Regions from separate parts of the Homo sapiens genome. Here region 1 is linked to region 2. Evidence: promoter capture Hi-C in human tissues and cell types (Jung and others, 2019). All regions are on one chromosome and are shown on one strand. Each heading gives the region's core, a stretch centred on a gene start or on the middle of the fragment in contact. The rest is flanking DNA. Distances are from core to core; before and after follow the strand shown. Region 1 holds the start of HYI (hydroxypyruvate isomerase (putative)). Region 2 overlaps SZT2 (SZT2 subunit of KICSTOR complex).

Region 1 (2,700 bases), core at 12-2,511, 33 kb before region 2:
TGTTGGGATATAAATTTATATTTTTCAAAGGAAATTTAAGATATCAACAACTTAAATATGTTCCTATTTTTGACCATGTAATTCTACCCATAAGAACCTGCCCAATCAGTTGGGTTATTGTAGATGAAAGTAAAATCATTCAAATTATCTCAAGAAACATTAAGAGGCTATACAGAGACAGAAACCCAGGAAAGTCTAAGCATCCCAGCCTTAAGTGCACAGACCTGGGGGCAGCTATGGGTTTGGGCACCCTTGGGATGACATGGGTTTCTCAGGGTGCTACCTCTATTCACAGGACTTGGTTCCCCTCCTTTCCGCTCTAGCTTTTCTTTACCATAGGACTGTCTTATTTCGTTTCTACAGCCCAGTCACCTTCTGGCAACACCACCTGTTGACTCTCAGCATTTCCTTGTTTGAACTCTTGATTGGTTAAATTACCTTTCCAAACGACGCAAGTAAGAGGTTTTTGGCCAGTCTATGGATTGGCTGCCCTGGGATCAGATGACCTCCCTGGTCCAATCAGCTGAGGCTAAGGCTAAAAAGGGACAGCTCACCCATAGCTGCTCCAATGGGGCGGTTTCCCTTGCAAAAGACTAGCGGCGTGAACGGGCAAACACTGTGATGGACATCTCTAGAAAAAGACTCGGAAAAGAGTCAGAGATAGGGACTAAGAAGTGCCTGAAAGTGCGCTTGCAGCGCGCGTGCACACACACGATATCCAACCACAAAGTACAATAATGACTTGCTGCTTAGGTGTGCGACAATGAGCAGCGAAGGCACTGACTTTGAAGGCTATTGGAAAACACGAGGAAATGCTCACAAAATAATATTCCATGAAAAAGAGCTATAAAACAGCATATACCGAATGATCAGAATTTCCAAAGAAAAAAATTGCATATTTTAAAATTTGGACGGGAAAGCCAACAGGCTAGTGGTGTGATAACTGGCGGTATAAAAGTGCTTCTTTATTTGGTCATACAGCTTTCAAATGTTGCTTAACGAACAGATAGCATTTTTATAATCAGAGGAAAGACTCAGTATTAAAGTGCGCGTCCCATCATTGCAACCGGGCCCTCGGGCAGCCAGCTCTCTCTTGCTTCGCGTCCGGCTCTCAGGCCCTGGAGCTCGGCCTCCCTACCTTCTCCAGGCGCGGGTCCTGCTCCTTTTCCGGCCGCCCTCGCTCCGCCCCTTCGCCTCTCCCCGTGATCCCTCTCTCGCTAACCGTAGGCGCTTTTCGTGAAGGCCCGGGTTTTTACAGCACTTCGCTTTTCTAACCACGAACAGTGCTCGTTCGTTCGCAGGGCCAGCAAGGAGAGCCCCGCCCCCGCCCGCCGCCCGCCGCCCGCCGCCCGCCGCCTTTGGATCCCGCGGACTCCGCCCGGCCCGGCCTCCCCAGGCATGGCGCCGCTGCGCTTCTCCGCCAATCTGTCCTGGCTATTCCCCGAGCTCTCCGGCCTCCCCGCGCGGGTGCGGGCCGCGGGCAGCTCGGGCTTCGAGGCCGTCGAGGTGGCCTGGCCGTACGCGGAGACGCCTGAGGCGCTGGCGCGCGCCGCGCGAGAAGCGGGGCTGCGGCTTGTACTGATCAACACGCCCCCGGGTGCGTCGCGGGCCGGGAGGGCTGGGAGGGCTGGGGGGTGCCGGGGCGCGGGCAGGGGAGTGTCCGAGCCGGGGGCTGAGGCCCGTTCTCTCTGCAGGAGACCAAGAGAAGGGGGAAATGGGGCTGGGGGCCGTCCCCGGGAGACAGGCGGCCTTCCGAGAGGGACTGGAGCAGGCCGTGCGGTATGCCAAAGCCCTGGGCTGTCCCAGGTACCCCGCTCCACCCCACCCCCACCCCTGTGACCCATGACCCTGATGCAGGTTCAGGGAGTCGAGGACGCCAGATCTGAGACGCTCAGAAGTCTGAGCCCACTGGTTTATCTCTGCCTCTGCGGTCCTGGTCCTTTGTAAATTGCCTTTTGTATTTTATCTGTCTTATGCCACTCTGTTTGCCACTCTTTCATGCTCACCCCATGCTGGGATCCCATGCTGGGAGCTCAGTCTGCCTAGGCAGATAGGAGAGTAAATATATACAGTGATGCATTTGAGGACAGGCCTATTCCAGGAAGCTGTGGGAGCAGGGTAGGCACCTAACCCTGTCTGGATCAGAGAAAGCTGCTTACAGGTAGTGATGCTTGGACTGTCTTCAAGGAGTGGGCATTGCTTGATGGGCAGGAAGTTGAGTGTTCCTTGCAAGGGTGCTGTGGCAAGAGGAGGCCTGGTGTATTTGGCAGCGTTCCTGAGGCTGGACATGTATGTAGCCTGTTGGGATGGGGAGGCCTGGAATGTCTGCTTGGAGCTGGATGTGGCTAAGATCAGGGGATGATGGGAGGAGGTGGACGGCTCAAAGTGGGGCTGATTCAAATGTCAAATCCTGCAGAGGCCAAACAGGCTCAGAAGGAACTGGCAAGAGGGGATCACTACTGGTCAATGGTGGGGGCAGAAAACAGATGGGAAAAGGCTAAGTAGATGCGAGGAGAGGAAGTAGAGACAGCAGCATGGAATACCTGAGAAGGGCAAGCAAAGGTCAGGACAATTTTTAAAGGTGAGAATTTAGCAGGTTACAGGTTGCGGAGAAGGACCGAGGGAAGGAAAGGTTTTGGAAAGTACTGGAGGCAGGAGGCGGTGGGTGGACACTGAGATGTCTGGGAAAGGGCTTGCCCC
Region 2 (2,899 bases), core at 62-2,561:
CTTTAAAGCTGAATCCAGAAGGATGGAACCATAAGCCCAGCTTATGTCACCGACTTGGGAGAAAAGCCCCTAAATGGTGGCAGGACCTCATGATGTGGCCACTGCACACTAGCATAAGCCACCTTCCCATCAGTGTTAGGCTGACAGCGTGGACTGAGTGTGAAGACAGCACAGGACCAAGGAAGCTGTAGTCTTCAGGGAGTACACAGTTCATGGTGGCTGGTGGTGGATGCACACAGGTGAAGGCGGCTGGGGAAGCCCAGAGTATGTCACGTGGAGATGGGGCAAGGGCTCACGGTCTGCTGGGACTGGGATACCACCACCTAGACACTGTGTGAGTCTTTGCCTCTGCCACCTGTGCTCTGTTCAGGACAGCCTGTCTGTATAGATCCTCCTCTTCCCCGGGGCCTTAGGGAGAAGAGAAGCTCTCAAGGTTAAAGCTTGGGCTTCTGGCTTAGGTGCCTTAGACGTGAGACAGAAAGGAATAGAAGGTGGTGGTCCTGGGCTCCAGATGCTGTGCAACCCAAGTTGACATGAAATGGGGCTACTATACTTCAGAGCTACTCACCGGGGTGGTGGAGCCTGGAGGGATGTAGAAGAGTGGCACTCCGCTCTTGGTGCTGTCAGGAAGCGTGAAATGCTCAGGCACTGAGGAGAAGGACTGAAGGTGGGCAAGCATCTGGTCTGTCTGGTTGATGCTGTAGAATAAGGGCCAGGCCTGAGCCATATCTGACTCTGCTGGGTGCAGATGAGGGGAGCCTTAGGGGGACATGGGACCCTGGATATAAGCCTGGTTCTCTGGGTGATGCTCCCCAGCTCCCGCCTTTGCAAATCTGTCCCTCCATACAACAAATGGGGCAGCACTCATTGAGTGATGACTTCACTGACCTCTGCAGCGTGTTCCAGAAACGCCGGATAACATGGGTACGATACAATGAACGAATGGGCTGCCTTAGTGCACAGGACACATCATGCAAAATGTCGTAGCCGCCTTCCATCGTCACTTCCACCCGTGTTACTCGAGGGCCCTCAGGCTCCAGGGGCCAGGGTGCCATAGCCACATACTCAATGCGCATGTTGTGTTTCCACAGCAGCACCAGCTTTACCTCCAATTGGGACCCTCCTTAGGGAGAAGCGGAAGGGCCAGTTAGGAGAAGGCATAGGACTCTAGGCCTGGGATCGAGTTCTATCTGAAACCCCCACCTACCTCATGGAACCCAGTCCTGCCAAAGGTTCCAAGCATGGTTCCACAGGTTTCAGGCCCAGAGTTGGCCCACTGACACAAACACAAGTTTGTAGAAACAATCTGAAAACTAAGCCAAGTTCAGGACCCTATACCACCCTCAGCTGGTTCACCTTGGGCAAAAGGAGATAGAATTGGGAAGCTCCATGCTAAGAGAATTAAGCCCTGATGACAATTCAAAACCCACTGTCTCAAGTGATAAGGACTTCAATGTGACACTCTTTCATGTGTGATACATGTGGGTCTTCCCACACACAAATTCTTGAGAGATCTATGGGATTACAGCAGGGCCTAATGACCCTTACCTTTGGCCAGTGTGACCTCTCGGACACTGTAGCCCTCTCGAAGCCGTACGGACACAGTGCTGACCAAGTCGGCTGGCACCTCCTTCTCAGTGTGCTTCTTCCGGCGCAAGGCCAGGGCAGGGTTGCTGCTTGCAGAGACCAGGTGCTCATTAAATAGGCGGTGCTGAGAGCCTGGAAGACCAGTGGAGATGGGGAAGGAGAAACTGGTTATCTGCCAACTGACAGATCTGTAGGGGGAAGGGGCTATGCTGAAATGACTGTGAGGTAACAGTGCCAGCAGAGCCAGCCCCAGTTACACTTTCAGTCCTCCAGGGCCCCATCATCTCTGGGCCCATTCTATATTCCCTCCTTCCCACACCCACCTCAGTGTGCCTCTCACCGCAGTAATATTCAGGGTTCAGTGCTTCCCCACTGCGCAGGAAGGAATAGAGGAGAAATGCCCGGTGGTAGACAGTCAGACCCAGGTTGCCTGGCTCCGGCTCAGGACAAGTGGACAGGTAGGACCCAAATGTTGCCATTGCGATGAACTTCATTAATTCCACATTGGGCACATGGCCAAAACTGCAGTCATAAGAGTAAACTCCTCCCACCTGGAAAAAGTGAGCAACTGAAGACCTAGCTCTGACAGAGGCATAGGAGAAGGAAGAACAGGAGAGAAAGAGACTGGGCTAGGTGGCTGCTCCCATTCCCTGGACCACAGAGTGGGAAGTAGGCCAGTGTTTTCCCAGGACAGACCACTGTCTGTGTCTTTCCTTCCTTAAGCCCTTCTGTCTGATGCCCATGCTAACCGGCCACAGCATCCTCTTTGCTTCCTCCTCGATACCTAAAGGCCCACCACCTCCTTCACTAAAGATTTTGGCAACTGGTTCACTGACTTCCTGTCATCATCCTGAGAGACTTCAGCTTACCAACACTTCTCAAACTTTAGGGTGTATGAAAAACACCTGGGGATTTTGTTAAAATGCAGTAGGTCTGGGGTGGGGCCTGAGATTCTGCATTTCAAACAAGCTTTCTGCTGGTCTGTGGACTACATTTTGAATACAATAGCTGTAGGTGGGAAATTAGCAAACTACATATACCCTGAGGGCCAAATCTAGTCCATCACCTATTTTTGTGAATCGAGTTTTATTGGAACACAGCCACACACATTCATTTTGTATTGTCTGTGGCTGCTTTCACGCTTCAACAGCAGAGCTGAGTAGCTGTGACGGACCAAGTGGCCCACAAGGCTTAAAGACTGACTGGCCTTTGCAGAAAGTGTTTGCAGACCTGCTCCAGATTACTCATTCAAGTCCCTGCCCTCTCAGTTCCTTAACTCTCATCTCCAGTAACTTACTCTATTCCATTCACC

Evidence for each region. The method cuts DNA at HindIII sites, captures the fragments that hold promoters and counts their contacts. A contact is called where the count stands out against the background at its distance.
Region 1: the fragment with the promoter of HYI here is called in contact with a fragment that was not itself captured in region 2 in 2 of the 25 tissues and cell types used here (H1 embryonic stem cells and pancreas).

Annotation. Positions count from the first base shown.
Region 1 is chr1:43,452,492-43,455,191 of GRCh38, reverse strand. HYI (hydroxypyruvate isomerase (putative)) reads left to right here and starts at 1,261. Exons shown (of 8, transcript NM_001190880.3): 1 at 1,261-1,597; 2 at 1,695-1,806. The coding sequence starts at 1,399. It overlaps SZT2 (SZT2 subunit of KICSTOR complex), which reads right to left. Exons shown (of 72, transcript NM_001365999.1): 72 at 945-2,700. HYI-AS1 (HYI antisense RNA 1) reads right to left here and starts at 1,265. Exons shown (of 2, transcript NR_174945.1): 1 at 1,139-1,265. RefSeq lists silencers at 1,225-1,524, 1,635-1,694 and an enhancer at 2,485-2,700. The HindIII fragment of the contact is 20,604 bases long and covers 1-2,700 here.
Region 2 is chr1:43,418,973-43,421,871 of GRCh38, reverse strand. It overlaps SZT2 (SZT2 subunit of KICSTOR complex), which reads right to left. Exons shown (of 72, transcript NM_001365999.1): 8 at 1,928-2,138; 9 at 1,549-1,719; 10 at 889-1,123; 11 at 569-698. Among named protein-coding and RNA genes, the nearest start is that of MIR6735, 28 kb to the left of the region's middle. The HindIII fragment of the contact is 6,068 bases long and covers 1-2,899 here.